Regions from separate parts of the Homo sapiens genome. Here region 1 is linked to region 2. Evidence: promoter capture Hi-C in 16 types of primary human blood cells and fetal thymus (Javierre and others, 2016). All regions are on one chromosome and are shown on one strand. The core of a region is centred on a gene start or on the middle of the fragment in contact, and the rest is flanking DNA. Distances in the headings are between cores, read along the strand shown.

Region 1 (3,724 bases), core at 81-2,580, 160 kb before region 2:
AAAGAAAGGCACCCTAGTTCCAATGACTTTGGGCTCTGAAATTGGACTTGTCCTGCGTTCTCATCCCAGTTTCTCTCTCTCAAGCTGTGTGCCCTTGAAGAAGCCACCCTCAATGTTCCCAGGCCTCCACTTTGTCATCTGAAAACAAATTTTTCTTAATGACATGAGTAGTAATACTGTACAAGGGCCAAGGCTGTTTTGTTCTCTATTGTATCGCAGCATCAGGGACAGTGCCTGGCACTTAGTAGGTAGGCCCTGAGTGCTGTTGTTTGAATGGAGAGCCAGTTGTGCCCCAGGGCAGGTGCTGCAGGCTGCAACTCCAGCTCAGTGAATTCAATCCTCTGAGCCCTTTCAGCATCACGGTGTTGATTCTTCAAAGGATGGATGAAAGATTTGAAGGGGAATTTCCCAGCTGAAAGGATTGAAAAAGAGTGAAGTGAAATTTCTTTCTCTTTCTTTCTTTCTTTTTTTTTTTTTTTTTTGAGACAAGGTTTTGCTCTGTCTCCCAGGCTCGAATCTAGTTGCTTGATCATGGCTGACTGCAGCCTCAAACTCCTGTGCTCAAGAGATCCTCCCACCTCAGACTCCAGAGTACCTGGGGCTACAAGCATGTGCTACCACGCCTGGCTAATTAAAAAAAAAATTTTTTTTTTGTAGAGATGGGGTCTCACAATATTGTTGCCCAGCTCGTCTCAAACTCCTGGGCTCAAGTGATTCTTCCGCCTCGGCCTCCCAAAGTGCTGGGATGACAGGCATGAACCACCGCGCCTAGTCGAAATTTCTTGTCTTGACCAAGTGAAGTCAAAGTAAGCTCCTAAGGCTGTTTCCTCATCTGTAAAATAGGGATAATAAGCGTAACTCACAGAGCTGGTCGCTCTGGGGAGTAAATGCGATAACGTCTGTGACGTGCTTGCTTGGAACCGGACCTGGCACACAGTAAGTGCTCAATAAACGTTCATTCAAGGTGAGGAGTGGGGACGGCTTGGAGGAGCCCGGGGTCCTCCCAGCAGCCTGGGGGAGTCGGGTCCAGCTCTCTGCCGCCGGGAGGGGCGTGGCCAACCCAGAGGGACGTGGTCCAGGCTTCAAGGCTGGACCAATGGGGGCGCCGAAGGGCGTGGCCCTACCCGGCATGGGCGTGACCTCGTTGGGTGGGAGGGGCCAGGCGCTGTGGGAGCCTCCGGGAAGAAGATGCTCGGGCCAGCAGCCACCGCCAGCCCCGTCGCCGCCGCCGCCCGCGCCCGCCGCCCCCCGGGCCCCCACTAGCGGCCGCCTCCGCCTCCCACTCCGGCCACGCTCCTCCGGCCCCCCACCCCGAGCAGGGTCTGGGGGGCTCGGCCCTCTTGCCCCAGGGAGCCAAGAAGAAGCGGGGAGTCCCGTCCCCCCAGTGGCGCGTCCAGTCCCCAGCCTCTGTGGTCCCAGGAGAGACCCCACCTCTCAGTTCTTTCCCGGCCCTATCGGAGACCCCCCTCGGCCCTGCCATCCTGCTCACGGCCGCTCTCCAGGCTCTGTCAGCCCCCCGAGAACCGGCTCCCCCCTACCCCCGCCTTCCCTCTCCGGGGCTCCCCCTCCCCCATCCCTCCACCGCCCCCTCCCCCTCCCACCTCCCCTCCCCTCCCCCTCCCCCGCCCCCCGCCCCCCGCCCCCCCCCACCATGAGGATGATGGCCGCCGGCGCGGTGCACGGCCTCTTCACGGCCTCCGCGGCCCCGCAGCCGCCGCCGCCCCCGCCGCCGCCGCCGCCGCAACCCCAGCCTCCCCAGCAGCCGTCGCCGCCGCCACAGCAGCCGCCGCCGCCGCCGCCGCAGCCGCCGCAGCAGCAGCAGCCGCCGCCCCAGGCCCCCCCCATGGAGCCCGAGGCCCCGGATTCCCGCAAGAGGCCCCTCGAAACGCCCCCCGAGGTGGTCTGCACCAAGCGCAGCAACACGGGAGGTGAGAAAGGGCTGCGGCTCGGGGCGGGGGAGCGGGCAGGGGGCCTCGCCTTTCTCCATCCTTTCCCCCCCTCCCGTGGCAGGTGCAAGGGCTCTGGGGAGGGGAGAGACACCCCTCCCCGAGGCGGGGGACAGAGCGGGGAGTTGAGGAGGGGGCTGGACCCCCTCCTCCTCTCGCTGAGGCCCGGGGCTGGGAGCTTTGTCTGCGAGGAGAGGGGTGGGGGGGAGGGGGTGATAAGTGTCCTTGGGGGGCGCAGAAGATGGGGGGCGTGGGAGCCTCAGGGCAGGTGTCTGTGTGTCCTTGAGGGGTGTGTGATGTGACCCTTTCGGAGCAGGGGTGTTCCCCGAGCTCGCGTGTCCTGGCTGGGGGAGGGGAAGGAGTAGAGGCCTGTGGACCGGGAGCTTCCCAGCCTCCCTCCCTGGGGATGTCCTGAACAAGGGTTGTCCCAGATGGAGGCTTGTGTGGCCCTGGCCGGATCGTGCGTGGGGACAGGCTGGGTAGGTGTGTGGGGTGAAATGGAGGAAATGGTGGGTGTGTAAAGCTAGGTGGGAGAATGTGAGGCTAGGACAGGTGTGTATGTGTGTGCGTGTGTGTGTATGTGTGCCCTCTACAGCCTGGATGTGTGACATTAGGGATCAGGAATATGACAGCATAGGGGGGTGTATGAGAAAGACAGGGGACAGGGGCTGGGCTCCATGTTTGAGACCCTCCAGCGGGTACGTGTGACAAGGAAAGGTGTGTGCTTGTCACCCCCAAGGGGGCTGTGGCAGAGTGTGACACATGAGAGGGTGTGTGTGACATGCAAGGAGGTGTGTGGGGGACACCGAATGGGCTGGCTCTGGGTGTCAGCCAGAAGAGGCCGTGTAGATCAGAGGAAAGGGGTCCAGTGTGTGTGACACAGGCGTGGCTGGTGAGGGGATGTGACAAGAAAAGGGTGTGGGTGTGACTCCAGAGAGGCTGTGGCTGGGTGTGACACATGGAGGTGTGCAACAGTGACATCAGAGGGGGTGTGTGCAACAGGGAAGGTGGGTGTATGACGAGGGAGAGGCTGGGGCTTGTGGGTGAAACGCACGAGGGTGTGTAAAAAGGAGAAGGAAGGATGGGTCCCCATGTGACAGGGCACGTGTGCATATGACACCCAGCTGTGTGTATGGGTGTAACAAGGAGAGGTGTGTGTGTGAAATGGCTGAGTGTGTGACACCAGAGATATGGGGATGATTCTGCATGTGTTTGACAAGGGAGGCTGTGTGTGTGTCCGTGTGTATTGGAGATTGCCGAATGTTTGACACCACGGAAGGCAGTGTGAGGGAAGAGAGGGGCTCTCCCTGGGTGTGTGACCCAAGGAGGTGTGTGTACCAGAGAAGAAAAGCCGAGCTGGGAACTCTAGGTGCATGCCCTGCCGTGGGGGGCTCAGGGAAGAGGTGGGGTTTTTTGGGGTCCTCAGAGCCCTGTCCTCTAGCTCCCTGGTAGGAGGGAGACCCCGCAGCGGACAAGCCCCTCCCCGCGGTCACCTTGCCAAAATCTCCACTTCCTCTGGCCTTTTCCTCCGGATGGGAGAGGGATGGCTTCAGGCAGAGTGCACCCTTTCCTCTCCGCCAGGCCTGGCAGTGGGTGGGGTGGGGGCCTCCTACCTCCTCCCTACAGATGAATACAAGCCGACTTTCTTCCTCCCATCCTAGCCCTCCCCCACCTCCATCCAGGTGGGACAGGAATCAGGGACCCCCTGGATGCCTGTGAGGGTGTCCAGCAGAAATTGGAGGAAAGGGAAGTTGGGGGAGGGGATGGGAGGGAGTTTC
Region 2 (4,079 bases), core at 1,001-3,500:
TGGGAGGCCGAGACAGGAGGACTGCTTGAGCCCAGGAGTTTGGGGCTGCAGTGAGGAAGAAACGCGCCACTCACTGCACTCTAGCCTGGGCGGCAGAGTAAGACCATCTCTCAAAAAAAAAAAAAAAAAAAAAAAAAAAAGAGAACAAAAAAACCAAACCCCGCAGGACTAATGTCGCCCCCTGGAGGCTGCGGTGAGAATGTACATGTGACCCAGGACAGGTCCCGGCACCGGCACGGACCTCCGCTGTTTAGCAGGGGTAATTTCGCCCCCTGGAGGCTGCCGTGAGAATGTCATGAGAGGTGCTCCCGCAGCACTTAGCCTGGGCCTGGCCCAGGGGGAGCTCTGGTAAAAGGCGGCTGAGTTTTCTTCCACCCCCTTCCCAAGTTGCCCTCGTGGTCCAGCCGCCTGGATCGGGAAGACAAAGGCCTCTGGAGGGAGGTCGGGGCTGCTTGTTGCCCATCCAGAGGAATCTTGGATGGTGGGATTTGGGCATGGTCTTGGCAAGGTCTTTCTCCCAGTGTCAAGGCTCGGGGGGATGCCTGTGTGCCTCTCCCGACGGCTCCCTCCCTCCCTGGTTCAGGTGTGGAAGTACCCCAAGGTGTGGGAGGGCTTCATCAAGTGCTGCCAGCGCACAAAGCCCCAGAGCTTCCAGGTCATCCTGCAGCTGCCGCCCCAGCAGCTGGGAGCCGTCTTTGACAAGTGCCCAGAGCTCCGGGAGCCCCTGCTGGCCCATGTCCGCTCCTTCACCCCCCACCAGGTACCCCTTCCCCCCACCAGGTACCCTTTCCCCCCACCCAGGGTGTGCGGTGGGCGGCCCCCTGGGTCCCTCTGGTTGGTGGGGACTGGATGGAGGCGGACACAAGAAGGCCCTGCACTGCTGGGAGTTCTGGAGGGTTAGGGCCCCCGGACCTGAGGTGTGCAAATGGGGTCTCTGTGCCAGAGCTGCCCCCAGCGCCCCCTTCCTGCTCTCCACCCAGCAAGCTCACATCCCTAACTCCATCATGACCATCTTGGAGGCCAGCGGCAAGCAGGAGCCAGAGGCCAAGGAGGCGCCTGCGGGGCCCTTGGAGGAGGTGAGGGCCCTGCAGCCCACCCATCTGGATCCCCAGACTCCCACCCCCTACCCCAAGCCAGCAAGGCTCACCATGGCCTCCTCCTGACCCCGAGAGACTCAGGCCACCCCTGCCTCTGGGCCACCCGTCTCCCAGGGGATGCTCCTGCTGGGAGTTGGGGGTCTGGGGGACAACTGCCCCTTCCTCCCCATGCTCTTGGTGAAGAACTCAAAGACCACCTCAGGGTGGTTCCTTCTCTTTCCGGCCGTCCTCTGAGCCACCCACCTCTGAGCTTCTGTGTGGCCCTCCCTATCCCCAGGATGATCTGGAGCCCCTGACCTTGGCCCCGGCCCCAGCACCCCGGCCCCCTCAGGACCTCATCGGCCTGCGACTGGCCCAGGAGAAGGCCTTAAAGCGGCAGCTGGAGGAGGAACAGAAGCTGAAGCCGGGAGGAGTGGGAGCCCCCTCCTCTTCCTCCCCCTCTCCCTCTCCGTCGGCCCGGCCAGGCCCGCCCCCGTCTGAGGAAGCCATGGATTTCCGGGAGGAGGGGCCTGAGTGCGAGACCCCGGGCATCTTCATCAGCATGGATGACGACTCGGGGCTGACCGAGGCCGCGCTGTTGGACTCTAGTCTCGAGGGCCCCCTACCCAAGGTAGGGAGAGCAGCCTCCGCTGCGAAGGAAGAAGCCGGATCTGGGCCGGGGTGAAGGTGGGGGAGGAGGGGCCATCAGGGGGCAGGGCCTGAAGGGGAGCGTGGAGGTGACCGCGCCCTCCACCCGGCTGCCCTTTCCTTCCCCGGTCACCAGGAGACGGCAGCGGGCGGGCTGACCTTGAAGGAGGAGCGGAGCCCCCAGACCCTCGCACCTGTTGGAGAAGATGCTATGAAGACTCCCAGCCCGGCTGCCGAGGACGCCAGGGAACCCGAGGCCAAGGGGAACAGCTGACGGGGCTCGAGGGGGAAAGGGGGTGGGACAGGGACTCGGGGCTGGGGGACGGGGCGGGGCTTGACCTGCGGGTGCTTTGCCTTAAAAAGAAATAAAAGATGTGAACTTGGGCAAGTTACTGAAAAGAAAAAAAAAAAGGGATGGCGGGCCTGGGGCGCGGGTGCCGTCTCGAGTCTGGCGCGACGTCCACCGTGGGGCTGCGCGGGATCGGGAGTGCGCGCCCAGAGCCTGCGCGGAACCCACCCTGGCCCGCTCCCCGCGCCCTCCACGGGTAACGGCCCCCTCTCTCGGTGCTCAGAAACCGGCGGTGTCGACAGGTGGCTCTCGCTTGGCCTCCTTGTCTGCAAGCCTTTCTCCTAGAGATCTGTGCCTCCTGGCGAACCATGGGAGACCTGCCGCCCTACCCTGAGCGCCCTGCCCAGCAGCCTCCGGGCCGGAGGACTTCTCAGGCCTCCCAGAGGCGGCACAGTCGGGACCAAGCTCAGGCCCTGGCAGCGGACCCCGAGGAGAGGCAGCAGATACCTCCAGACGCCCAGCGAAACGCCCCTGGTTGGTCACAGAGGGGCAGCCTGTCCCAACAGGAGAACTTGCTGATGCCCCAGGTCTTCCAGGCTGAGGAAGCCCGGCTGGGTGGCATGGAGTACCCATCTGTGAACACGGGCTTTCCCTCAGAGTTCCAGCCTCAGCCTTACTCTGATGAAAGCAGGATGCAGGTCGCCGAGCTCACCACCAGCCTAATGCTGCAGCGGCTCCAGCAGGGCCAAAGCAGCCTGTTCCAGCAACTGGACCCCACCTTCCAGGAGCCCCCAGTCAACCCCTTGGGCCAGTTCAACCTCTACCAGACAGACCAGTTCTCTGAAGGTGCCCAGCACGGGCCTTACATAAGGGATGACCCTGCCCTTCAGTTCTTGCCCTCTGAGCTGGGCTTCCCACACTACAGTGCCCAGGTGCCTGAGCCCGAGCCTCTGGAGCTGGCCGTGCAGAACGCCAAGGCCTACCTGCTGCAGACCAGCATCAATTGCGACCTCAGCCTGTGAGCAGGGGCTAGGAGTGGGGCGGGTGGGGGACCCAGGCAGGGAGGGGCCCCACCCGAAGTGCCTGCCTCAGTCAGTCAGACAAGGGATCATCCCTCATGGAAAACCAGTGACTCTAATTCAGCTGAGTCGGAATCAATGCCAACAACAGCTAGCATTCACTTCCCAGACATGTGCTGGCACTGCACACACTCACCTAATTCTCACCGGAGATGAGCACATCAGCTCATCCTACTTTACAGAGGAGGAGACCGAGACACAGAGAAGTTGGGTCGCTTACCCAAAACTACACAGCTAGGATATGGCAGAGTCAGGATTCCAGAACACGTGATTTGGCTCCCCAAGCCCTCTTGCTTTTTTTTTCCCCCAGACATAGTCTCACCCTGTCACCCAGGCTGGAGCACAGTGGCGTGGTCTTGGCTTAGGGCAACCTCTCCTTCCCAAGTTCAAGTGATTCTTCTGCTTCAGCCTCCCGAGTAGTTGGGGTTACAGGCGCGCTCCACTTCACCCAGCTAATTTTTGTATTTTTAGTAGAGGCAAGATTTCACCATGTTGCCCAGGCTAGTCTCAAACTCGACCTCAAGTGATCCGCCCATCTCAGCCTCCCAAAGTGCTAGGATTGCAGGCATGAACCACCGTGCCCAGCCCTCCTGAGACCCTCTTATCCTGCAACTAAACCTCCCTGCCTGAGGAAGATACTTGCCAAAGCCACTTAGCTACAGTCACAAAACACTGCTCTCAGCCTCCATTAGATACCCAGGATGCTCTCATTCTAGGAGAGTGGACAAGAAACAGAAAAAGTGATAAACTGAAGCTAAGGACTCAGGTGAAAAATAAGGGAGGCTAAGAGGGCTAGGGAACACATGAAATAGTGGGGGTCCAACCAGGTGCGGTGGCTCACGCCTGTTATCCCAGCACTTGAGGAGGCCAAGACGGGCGGATCACCTGAGGTCAGGAGTTCGAGACCAGCCTTGCCAACATGGCGAAACCCTGTCTCTACTAAAAAATACAAAAATTATCAGGGCATGGTAGCATGGGCCTGTAATC

What was found. The method cuts DNA at HindIII sites, captures the fragments that hold promoters and counts their contacts. A CHiCAGO score of 5 or more calls a contact.
Region 1: a contact is called between the fragment with the promoter of NOVA2 here and the fragment with the promoter of RSPH6A in region 2, in 3 of 17 cell types (neutrophils, total B cells and M0 macrophages). The highest score is 7.5, in neutrophils.

What each region holds. Positions count from the first base shown.
Region 1 is chr19:45,971,471-45,975,194 of GRCh38, reverse strand. NOVA2 (NOVA alternative splicing regulator 2) reads left to right here and starts at 1,330. Exons shown (of 4, transcript NM_002516.4): 1 at 1,330-1,928. The coding sequence starts at 1,844. RefSeq lists a silencer at 1,005-1,164. The HindIII fragment of the contact is 31,968 bases long and covers 1-3,724 here.
Region 2 is chr19:45,813,479-45,817,557 of GRCh38, reverse strand. RSPH6A (radial spoke head 6 homolog A) reads left to right here and starts at 2,250. Exons shown (of 6, transcript NM_030785.4): 1 at 2,250-3,031. The coding sequence starts at 2,382. SYMPK (symplekin scaffold protein) reads left to right here. Exons shown (of 27, transcript NM_004819.3): 24 at 584-760; 25 at 981-1,076; 26 at 1,375-1,707; 27 at 1,861-2,148. The coding sequence ends at 1,998. RefSeq lists a silencer at 257-346 and an enhancer at 507-576. The HindIII fragment of the contact is 28,371 bases long and covers 1-4,079 here.